2 separate regions of the Homo sapiens genome follow, and region 1 is linked to region 2. Evidence: promoter capture Hi-C in human tissues and cell types (Jung and others, 2019). All regions are on one chromosome and are shown on one strand. Each heading gives the region's core, a stretch centred on a gene start or on the middle of the fragment in contact. The rest is flanking DNA. Distances are from core to core; before and after follow the strand shown. Region 1 overlaps THOC5 (THO complex subunit 5). Region 2 holds the start of PES1 (pescadillo ribosomal biogenesis factor 1).

The links. Contacts are between HindIII fragments. The study calls those that stand out against the background at their distance.
Region 1: a contact is called between a fragment that was not itself captured here and the fragment with the promoter of PES1 in region 2, in 1 of the 25 tissues and cell types used here (liver).

What each region holds. Positions count from the first base shown.
Region 1 is chr22:29,539,803-29,544,466 of GRCh38, forward strand. THOC5 (THO complex subunit 5) reads right to left here. Exons shown (of 20, transcript NM_003678.5): 3 at 4,658-4,664; 4 at 3,627-3,740; 5 at 3,057-3,154. Among named protein-coding and RNA genes, the nearest start is that of THOC5, 12 kb to the right of the region's middle. The HindIII fragment of the contact is 4,062 bases long and covers 1,146-4,664 here.
Region 2 is chr22:30,589,184-30,594,279 of GRCh38, forward strand. It overlaps PES1 (pescadillo ribosomal biogenesis factor 1), which reads right to left and starts at 2,727. Exons shown (of 15, transcript NM_014303.4): 1 at 2,627-2,727; 2 at 8-87. The coding sequence starts at 2,650. RefSeq lists enhancers at 2,555-3,270, 2,750-3,049, 3,270-3,349. The HindIII fragment of the contact is 28,649 bases long and covers 1-5,096 here.

The DNA of each region.
Region 1 (4,664 bases), core at 1,927-4,426, 1.0 Mb before region 2:
GGCCTAGGCTGTAGGGTTGAAAGCAAGACATAATTTAACAGGAATAAATACAAGGGTCTGCACTTAAGTTCAAGACATTAGCCGCGTAAGAACAGAATGAGGAAGATCCAGCATGGGAGAACTGGATGGAAAAAGATCTAGAGGCTTAAACCGTTGCATGCATAGTGATTTATATGTATAAAAGAAAAGAAATTCTGCCAGGCGCGGTGGCTCACCCCTGTAATCCCAGCACCTTGGGAGGCCAAGGCAGGTGGATTACCTGAGGTCAGGAGTTCGAGACCAGCCTGATCAACAAGGTGAAACCCCGTCTCTACTAAAAATTAGCTGGGCGTGGTGACGCATGCCTGTAATCCCAGCTACTTAGGAGGCTGAGGCAGGAGAATCGCTCGAACCCAGGAGGCAGAGGTTGCGGTGAGCCAGGATTGCGCCATTGCACTCCAGCCTGGGAGACAGAGCGAGACTCCATCTCAAAAAAATCCAACCCTCTTTGCTGTATTAACATAGTTGACTGCTCAGGTTATGGTCAGATGACAGTAATGATAACGGCAGCTATCATATATTAATAAGCACCCACTATATGTCATCCTCACCTCATTTAAGCCTCACAACAACTCTAAGAGGTGGGGAGTTTTAATCTCCATTTTTTGACTGAGATGGAGGCTTCTATCAGTAAGCAGCTTGCCCAAGGTCCACAGCTAGGGAGTGGCCAAGCTGGGATTTGAACCCAGGCTGTGTAACTTCAAGGCCTATGCTCCTTCCATGTGGCCGTCTGCCTCCCAACAGGCGCAAGTTCCACTGTATTCTGGGTTTGTCAGTTTCCATTTGGGTGATGATTACAGACCAGTGCATCACATTATTTTGTTTTTGATACCTTTTTAATTTGGAAATAGTTTAAGACTCCAAGAAGTTTCAAAAATAATACTTAGAATGTATTTCCTCCATGTACCCTTCACCCAATGATACTATCTTATCTAACCACATTATACATTGTCAAAACCAGGAACTGACACTGGTACAATATTATTAACTCAAGTACAGACCTGATGCAGATTTCACCTCTATTCATATTTAACTATTGTTATGTGACGATTTTGTGGAACAGATAAAGATGCCTCTCAAAAATCAGCATCAGGGCTGGGCACAGTGGCTCATGCCTGTAATTCTAGCACTTTGGGAGGTCGAAATGGGTGCATCATCTGAAGTCAGGAGTTTGAGACCAGCCTGGCCAACATGGTGAAACCCTGTCTTTACTAAAAATACGAAAATTAGCTGGGTGTGGTGGCTCATGCATGCAATCGCTTGAACCCAGGAGGCAGAGGTTGCAATGAGCCAAGATCACGCCACCACACTCCAGCCTGGGCAACAGAGCGAGACTTTATCTTTAAAAAAAAAAGAAAAGAAAAGAAAAGAAAAAAATCAGCATCAGGCCAGGCTTGGTGGCTTACACCTTTAATCTTACCCTTTTGGGAGGCCAAGGCAGGTGGATCATTTGCAACCAGGAGTTTGAGACTAGCCCAGCATGGCAAAACCCTATCACTACTAAAAATACAAAAAATTAGCCAGGCATGGTGGTGCATGCCAATAGTCCCAGCTACTCAGGAGGCTGAAATGGGAGGATCATCTGAGCCAAGTCAAGTCAAGGCTGCAGTGAGCCAGGATTGTGCCACCACACCAGCCTGGGTGACAGGAGTGAGACCCTGTCTCAAAAAAAAAAAAAAAAAAAGACAAAAAACAAAACAATCAATCAGTATCATGATTATTAAAAATATTCCGGACCCACCGGGTGTGGTGGCTCACGCCTGTAATCCCAGCACTTTGGGAGGCTGAGGCAGGCGGATCATAAGATCAGGAGATCGAGACCATCCTGGCTAACACGGTGAAACCCTGTCTCTACTAAAAACACGAAATATTAGCCGGGCGTGGTGGCAAGCGCCTGTAGTCCCAGCTACTCGGGAGGCTGAGGCAGGAGAATGGCGTGAACCCGGGAGGCGGAGCTTGCAGTGAGCCGAGATCACGCCACTGCACTCCAGCCTGGGCGACAGAGCAAGACTCCATCTCCAAAAAAAAAAAAAAAAAAAAAAAAAAAAAAAAATATATATATATATATATATATATATATATCCTGGACCCAATGTCTAATAGGGCCCCTGCATATGTCAAGTTTGTTACAGATAAAAGCTGCTTTCAGTTTGCATAAACAGGTCTGATCAAGTGAGAACACTTCCCCTTCTCTTCCCGTTTACTCCTTCCTCCTTCTCATCTCTCAGCTTGGTTTTGAGGAAGGACACTGACAAACTGTAGTTTCTTCACCTGAAGGCAGCTAAGCAGCAAGAAATTCAGGTTCCAAAGAATAAAATCCATTTGCAGAAATGAACTGCTGGGACTACAGAAAGGAAAACTGGGCCAAAAGGTTAAAAGAATGTGACTGGAAGTGAGTTGCTCCCATACAACATGCCCAGAAATCAAACTGGTAATGTAAAGACCCCTGATAGGGAGAGAGACCTGCTTTTTACCAAGTGCAGAGCTCAAAACTCAAAAAGGTCAGAGAGACTTCTGAGGTTCTTTATGCAGCCTGAAATCACGGCTTGCAATTCTCCCACATTCACCCTTGCAATTTGCCCTTCTCCCAGATCCTACAGTTTTCTAAGCTCATCAGATTTCTTTTTAAAGAGAGACTTAGGCTGGGAGCGGTGGCTCACGCCTGTAATCCCAGCACTTTGGGAGGCCGAGGCGGGAGGACCACCTGAGGTCAGGAGTTCGAGAACAGCCTGGCCAACATGGCAAAACCCCGTCTCTACTAAAAATACAAAAATTAGCTGGATGTGGAGGTGGGCGCCTGCAATCCCAGCTACTCAGAAGGCTGAGGCAGGAGAATTGCTTGAACCCGGGAGGTGGAGGTTGCAGTGAGCTGAGATTGCGCCACTGCACTCCAGCCTGGGTGACAGGGCAAGACTCCGTCTCAAAAAAAAAAAAGAAACAGACTTACAGTGAGCTACATGGGAAAAAGCAGTTACCGAAAGACCACATGTGCCAAAGCCCTGTCCTCCCAAACTCACTTAAACTCCAAACATTTGGTGATCTCCTTCTGTAGGTGCATCACCTCATACAACAGGTTCTGGAGCTGCAGATGATAGGCATCTACTTTCTGCTTAGCCTGAAAGGAAAATACGATCAGAAGTGAGCAGGGCAAGTCAGGATGGAGCAGAGGAGAGGGTCAGCAAACTAAGAGAAGGTGTAAAGGGAATAAAGAAGGGGATGGGGCTGGGTGCAGTGGCTCACGCCTGTAATCCCAGCACTTTGGGAGGCCGAGGCGAGTGGATCACCTGAGCTCAGGAGTTCAAGACAAGCCTGGCCAACAAGGTGAAACCCCATCTCTACTAAAAAATACAAAAATTAGCCAGGCATGGTGGTGGGAGGTGCCTGTAATCCCAGCTACTTAGGAGGCTGAGGCAGGAGAATCGCTTGAAGCTGGGAGGCAGAGGATGTGGTGAGCTGAGATCGTGCCACTGCACTCTAGCCTGGGGGACAGAACGAGACTCTGTCTCAAAAAAAAAAAAAAAAAAAAAAAAAGAAGGGGATGGGGAGGAGGAAGGAGGAAGGTTAAAATTAAACCTTTTAACTACTACCTCGTGGGTCTGATCTCTTCCTTTCTTCAACCTGATGTGGGCTAATCGGTTAAGCTTCTTTAGAGTCATGAAATGCACACAGCTCTGGATCCTCCGTTCTTCTATTTCTATTGCCTGTGGGCAAAGAAAACAGTAAAGCCCACTGACGACAGGGCTAGCTCAGCTTCCTTCAGTCCTTCACCACTGACCCATCCTCATCTGGGGCCAAAAACGGCACCGGAGGGAGCTCAGAACCATGAGAAGGGTCATGAAGAAAATAAGAGGATGATTGTATAAGGAAAATGATTAAGAATCTCGGGCAAAAAAAAGTAATTTCTGCTTGGACTAGAGTAACAGGAATTGAAGATGGAATAAGGGCAGCAAAGGCACAATCTATCTCTACAGATCCTACACAGAGATCCCAGCAATAGTAACATCTTGTCATAAAATTTGACCTCTATAAATAACATTACAGGATAACTTAAATGGAAAATAACAGAATTATAGCCATAAAGCTTGGCTAGAATAGATTGAATGCAATAATTCTAACAAAACTTGTCAGCATAAGCACAAATACGTGAGATTCCTGGGGGAAAAAATGGATTTTAAAAAACTTATCTATCGAGTTTTTAGTCACATTGTTTAATTTCTCTGCCCCTAAAACCTCATTTATTCATTTACTATTAATGATAATTTCATTTTTGGTATCTACAATTTACTTGTACACATCCATCTTTGTATCAAGCAAATGTATAAGTACCATCATTTCTCAACACCTAGCAAAATGCCTGGCACTTAATAAATATTAATTGGATGAATGATCAAATTAGTAGGGAAAAAATTAATTATCCTGTACTTTCATTCCTGTAATTGGTGACTGAATGGTGATAAGAAGTTCCAATAAATTCACAGGTTTTGGGAGCCCTCAGGCTCCAATCACCTGATCATGGCTAGGACAGAAGATCAAGATCAGGAAGGGCCCTGGTAGGTGCAAAAACAGCCTCATCTATGTAAACCCACCAGGTTCACGGCCACCTGGTCCCACTCCTTACCACATCC
Region 2 (5,096 bases), core at 1,477-3,976:
TATTCACCTAAAGTCAGCCAAGCTCAGCTGGAGCTTCTTCCGGGCTTTGTTCCGGGTGATGTAGTTGGTGGCCGAGCCTCGTTCATACTGGGAGAGGAAAAAAACAATTCTCCATTAGCAATGATTGTAGTGACTGACATCAAACTCTGGGCATGCCTAGTTCCAGAGGCAACTATCACTCTGGATAAGTGGCTGAGATGAGTCTAGGAGAGGAAACACTGCAGGGAAGGAGCCGACCTGCCTGGATGAGCTCTCCTGTACCATCCTTGCGGCTGTCAGCATAGGGAACACATACATCTGCATGATGCTGAGGGCTGCGAGGCTGCTACGGATAGGGTGCTGTGCCAAGTGCTTAGCACTAGCTCTAAATGTTGGCCATTACAATTAGTGATTTTCACACATTTCATTTAATTCCCATAACCCTGTGATGTAGGTGCTGTCCGAACGTCCATTTCACATAGGAGAAAACGGGCTCGTAAAATAACCCATGCAACTCTTAAAAAGCACACAGCTTTTTAAGAGTTGGGGCTGGGATTCAAACTCAGGTCTGAGTCCAGTACCTGAATGCCTAATAGCTAAGCCAGTGTTCCTAATCTTTTCCCCTTCTTTTCTTCCTCATTATAACCTCTTCACCACTACCAGGAGACTTATTAGACACCCCCTTCCTCCCTCACCCATCACCCTTTCTTCCCTATGCCCCATAAAATGTTAATACCAGAGATATACTGTAGGTCTGTTTATGTAATGTAGTCCTTGGGGAGCCACAACCATTGTAATAGCTAAGATACTGCCCCTCAACCAATTTTGTTCCCTTGAGGGTGGTATTACCCTGGCTGAAAAAGCATGCTCTAAGCCACACAGCTTCTCCCCTTCCTCATTCATTCATTCAACAGACAATAACAGGTCCTCTATTATGGTCAAAGCACTAAGCTAGATGCTATGAAGGCAATAAAGACAAAAAGCCTGGTCTCTACCTGCCCCTAAGAAGCCTATTGTCTTGTATAACCATCTGGATGCCTGTGGTGCTAAGATGCTGCCTCACACCCACATTTCTGTATCCCTCACACTTCTGTATCCCTCGATAGAGACAATCAGTGCACTGTAACAAATACCCTGCAAGCTAACAAGCATGTCGTTTCCAAACAAGATCTTCCTCTGGACTAAGACAGCAGGGGCCTCTTTGGCTAGGTTCAGCTCTAAAGAGACAAACCTGTTAGTCTCCCACAGGTACGTTTACTAATAACATCATAGTCATGAAACATACCCTTCATTCATTCTTTCCTTTAGACATTAATTGTCTATTAGGTATTAGGCCCATGCTAAGTCTTGGAGGTATAAAGATGAGTTTCAGACTGCCTTAAGAAGTTGAGTTTTCATTTATAGCGTTTTCCATTACCTTATGCCACACTTATCTCTGTCACCATGCTTATCCTTATAAATGTTAAGGGAATAAATAGTTCTCAATGGGGTACTCCCTGGGTATGTGCTGGGGGGAGGAGAGTTCAGCAATGTTTGGAGACATTTTTGGTTGCTGGGTGCTACTGGTATCCAGTAGGTAAAGGATCAGGGATGTTGCCAAATATCCTACTACACACAAGACAATCCTTCCCACAACAAAGACTCATCTTTGTTGATTCTGGCTCTGAAACCCAGCTTTTAAAAACTGTAACGATTTTGTTACATATCTACATCTGCAACTCAAGGGCAGGTTTTCCATCTTGTATCTTTGCAGTTCCGATGGCTAGCACTGGATACTCAATGTAGTGTGTTGGGTTAAGAACACTGGCAATAGAAACTTTCACTCTGAAAGAAACACTTAAGCCAACTATATATTCCTCATTCCCATTCCCTTCCCAGTCTTTTCATGTCACTGGGCCGATTCTCCATACAGCCACAAGAACTCCCTGAAAAACTCTAATCGTGTTACTCCTCCTTTTTTTCCTACTGCACGTAGAATAAAATCCAAGCTCTACACTATTCCTACTGCACTTAGAATAAAATCCAAGCTTACAGGCCTTGCACGATACAGTACGTGTCCAACCCCAATCTTATCAGATGCCATTCTTTTCTTGGTTTACATGCGAGTCATCCTAATGTCCTTCCAACTCCTTACACACAGCAAGCCTTCCCTGCCTACTGATCTTGGCACTTGGTTTCCCTTGTCAGGCCTGCTCGCTAAGCACTCCCATGCCCCAGAACCCATCCAAGACGTTCTGATCTTTCCCATTTCAGCCGAAATGTTATGCCTCGAAGAGAACTTCCAAGACAACACTAACCAACTAATGTAACGGTGCAGTAACGGTGAGCTCTACGTAATGTTTATCACCCTTTCGGTAAATAGTGGTCCCACGGCTCGGCCTGCTTTTGGAATGAAGCTACGCTTGGTAAGTTCAACTCTCTTTCACAGCCCTCTCCACAGAAAGAACTCTGGAGTTCGTTCTCGGATTTCACTAAACGAATACTGCCATCCTTGTCCATTCTCGGACCCCTTCTCGCAGCTGATTACGGTCACGTCGATCCCGTCTTTCCAGTCTCCACGAGACGGAGCCCGGGAAAAGAGTCGACCCCATGCTCTGCCGCCCCCGCACCCCACCCCTCGGGAATCCCCACCGTCTTTCCCAATCACCTTCTTCTTCTCAAGGCCTCCCATCGCTCCACGTTGAGGAGCCGACTAGGGCCGCGCGTACAGGGAGCTCCACTTCCTCCCGCACGTGCCCTGCCAAGGACCCCGAGGACCCTCCCCACCCCACGCTGTCTGTTTGTGCGGGCTGCCCAATGAGATGCCTGTACAAGTCCAGGGAAAGATGGGGATTTCCTCCTCAAGATTTAAAACTATAGTCTGAAAAAAATCACTGAGAACACTCTTTCCAGATCTTTCCCGCTCACAATGGTTACAAACACTTTAAGTGTTAAAACAAACGTGGATATACAGGCTTTTCTGTAATCACCCTGATGACGATTCATTGACTGTGAGCCTCGTTGCATGTTGGGACGGAGAGGGGCGGAAGGCTTAGGGACAGCGCGGTGCCTTCTGGGATGCAGAGGGGCGCCGCACTCCATGGTGCGCGATAGGATTGCGTTGTCAAGGTAACGGTTGCTAAGCGTCGTCAGACTTCGGCTGCCGCTGCTGAGAAGCGGTTCCCGAGGGGCAGGGTGAGACTGCGCTGAGTTCCCACCGGCTTCGGGTTCTCTTTGGTTCATTCGCGGTTATGCGGCTAAAATAGAAAAAAGGAAGACATTTTTCCTCGCGGAGGTATAGAGATCCTAGAGGCCACTTATATTTTCTGAGCCTTAGTGGTGGACTCGTGGTATATTTAAAATGTACATTCAAGGCTGGGAGCGGTGGCGCACGCCTGTAATCCCAGCACTTTGGGAGGCCAAGACAGGCGGATCATCTGAGGTCAGGAGTTCGAGACCAGTGTGACCAATATAGTGAAACCCCGTCTCTGCTAAAAATACAAAAATTAGCTGGCCATGGTGGCACACGCCTGTAATCCCAGCTACTCGGGAGGCTGACGCAGGAGAATCGCTTGAACCTGGGAGGCAGAGGTTGCAGTGAGCCGAGATCTTGCCACTGCACTCCAGCCTGGGCGACAGAGTGAGACTCCATCTCAAAAATAAATAAATAAATAAAATTAAATGTACATTCAACATATTCGAGCTTTTAATTTGTACACATAAATTCTGTAAGTGTTCCTCAAATAATAATTCCAAGATTTATACAAATAGTCACATCACCTTGAGATGGTGCAGTCTGGAAGTAGATGCAATTTTAAGAGGTTTTTTTTTTTTTAAACGTTTCTCCCTTTTTCCAAATTCCAAATTTCGTTCGAAGATGATCTCAAAAGTTTAAATTTGAGGCTCTTGTGAATGTGACCTGGCCCAAGGACTTGGTCTTAGAACTTACACAGAGACAGACGTTAAGCACTGGTGAATACTTGTTTTGAACTATGTGACTTGCACTATCTAATTTAAAGCTAAAATTTAAAACCCAGCAATTCCACAGTTAAAAATGAGATGAAGCCGGGCACGGTCGCTCACACCTGTAATCCCAGCACTTTGAGAGGCTGAGGCAGGCGGATCACCTGAGATCAGGAGTTTGAGACCAGCCTGGCCAACATGGCGAAAACCCATCTCTACCAAAAATACAAAAATTAGCCGGGTGTGGTGGCAGGCACCTGTAACCCCAGCTAGTTGGGAGGCTGAGGCAGGAGAATTTATTGAACCCAGGAGGTAGATGTTGCAGTGAGCCAAGATTGTGCCACTGCACTCTGCACTCAAGCCTAGACGACAGAGCGAGGCTCCATCTCAAAAAAAAAAAGAAGAAGAAGGAAAGGGATGGACTGGAGAGGGTGGCAGTGGCTGGCTCATGAGGGCAACACAGGAACAGGGCTGGTGTCGTGAGCATGTGGCCTGGGCAGTCATCTCACCCTGTCCCTCACAAATCACCTAGCTCGTCCTGCACAGATAGAACCATGTTTGCAGAAAGTTGAGCCTTGTTTTGCTCACATTAATGTTGAGGGGTCACTGGAAGACACAGGTGGGGATGTTCAGGGAAGCAATTGTAATTTCAGCTCAAAATAGCCGTCATATAGGTACCACATTTCACAAGGGAGGAAACTAAGTCTCAGGAAAGTAAGTGATCGCTGAAGATCACTCAGCTGCTAAGCTGTGCAGAATAGATTCTCACCAAGCAGTCTGGTTTCAGAGTCCTCTGCTAAACTCACATTCCACTACCTAACGTATAGTAGAAAGAATGTTATGTGACTCCAGGATAATGCCAGGTAGATTTTTGTTCCATAAAGGGAAGAGGTTTTTAACCATTAGGGCTGCCCACACACAGAATGCTTTGTGCAATACCAAGCCTCCATCAGCATTACGGTGAAAAGCCCAGTCTCTGCAGGGAGACACACCTGGTTTACCTCTAAGCCTCGGACAAGCCACTTTACCTCAGGGTACCTCTCTTCCTCATTTGTAAGATGGGGTCAACACTAACTGCATAAAGTAGTTGTTGCTTTAAGTATGTTTACATTGTTTCATTTAAAACAAAAATTTGCTGGGCATGGTGACACACGCCTGTAATCCCAGCACTTTGG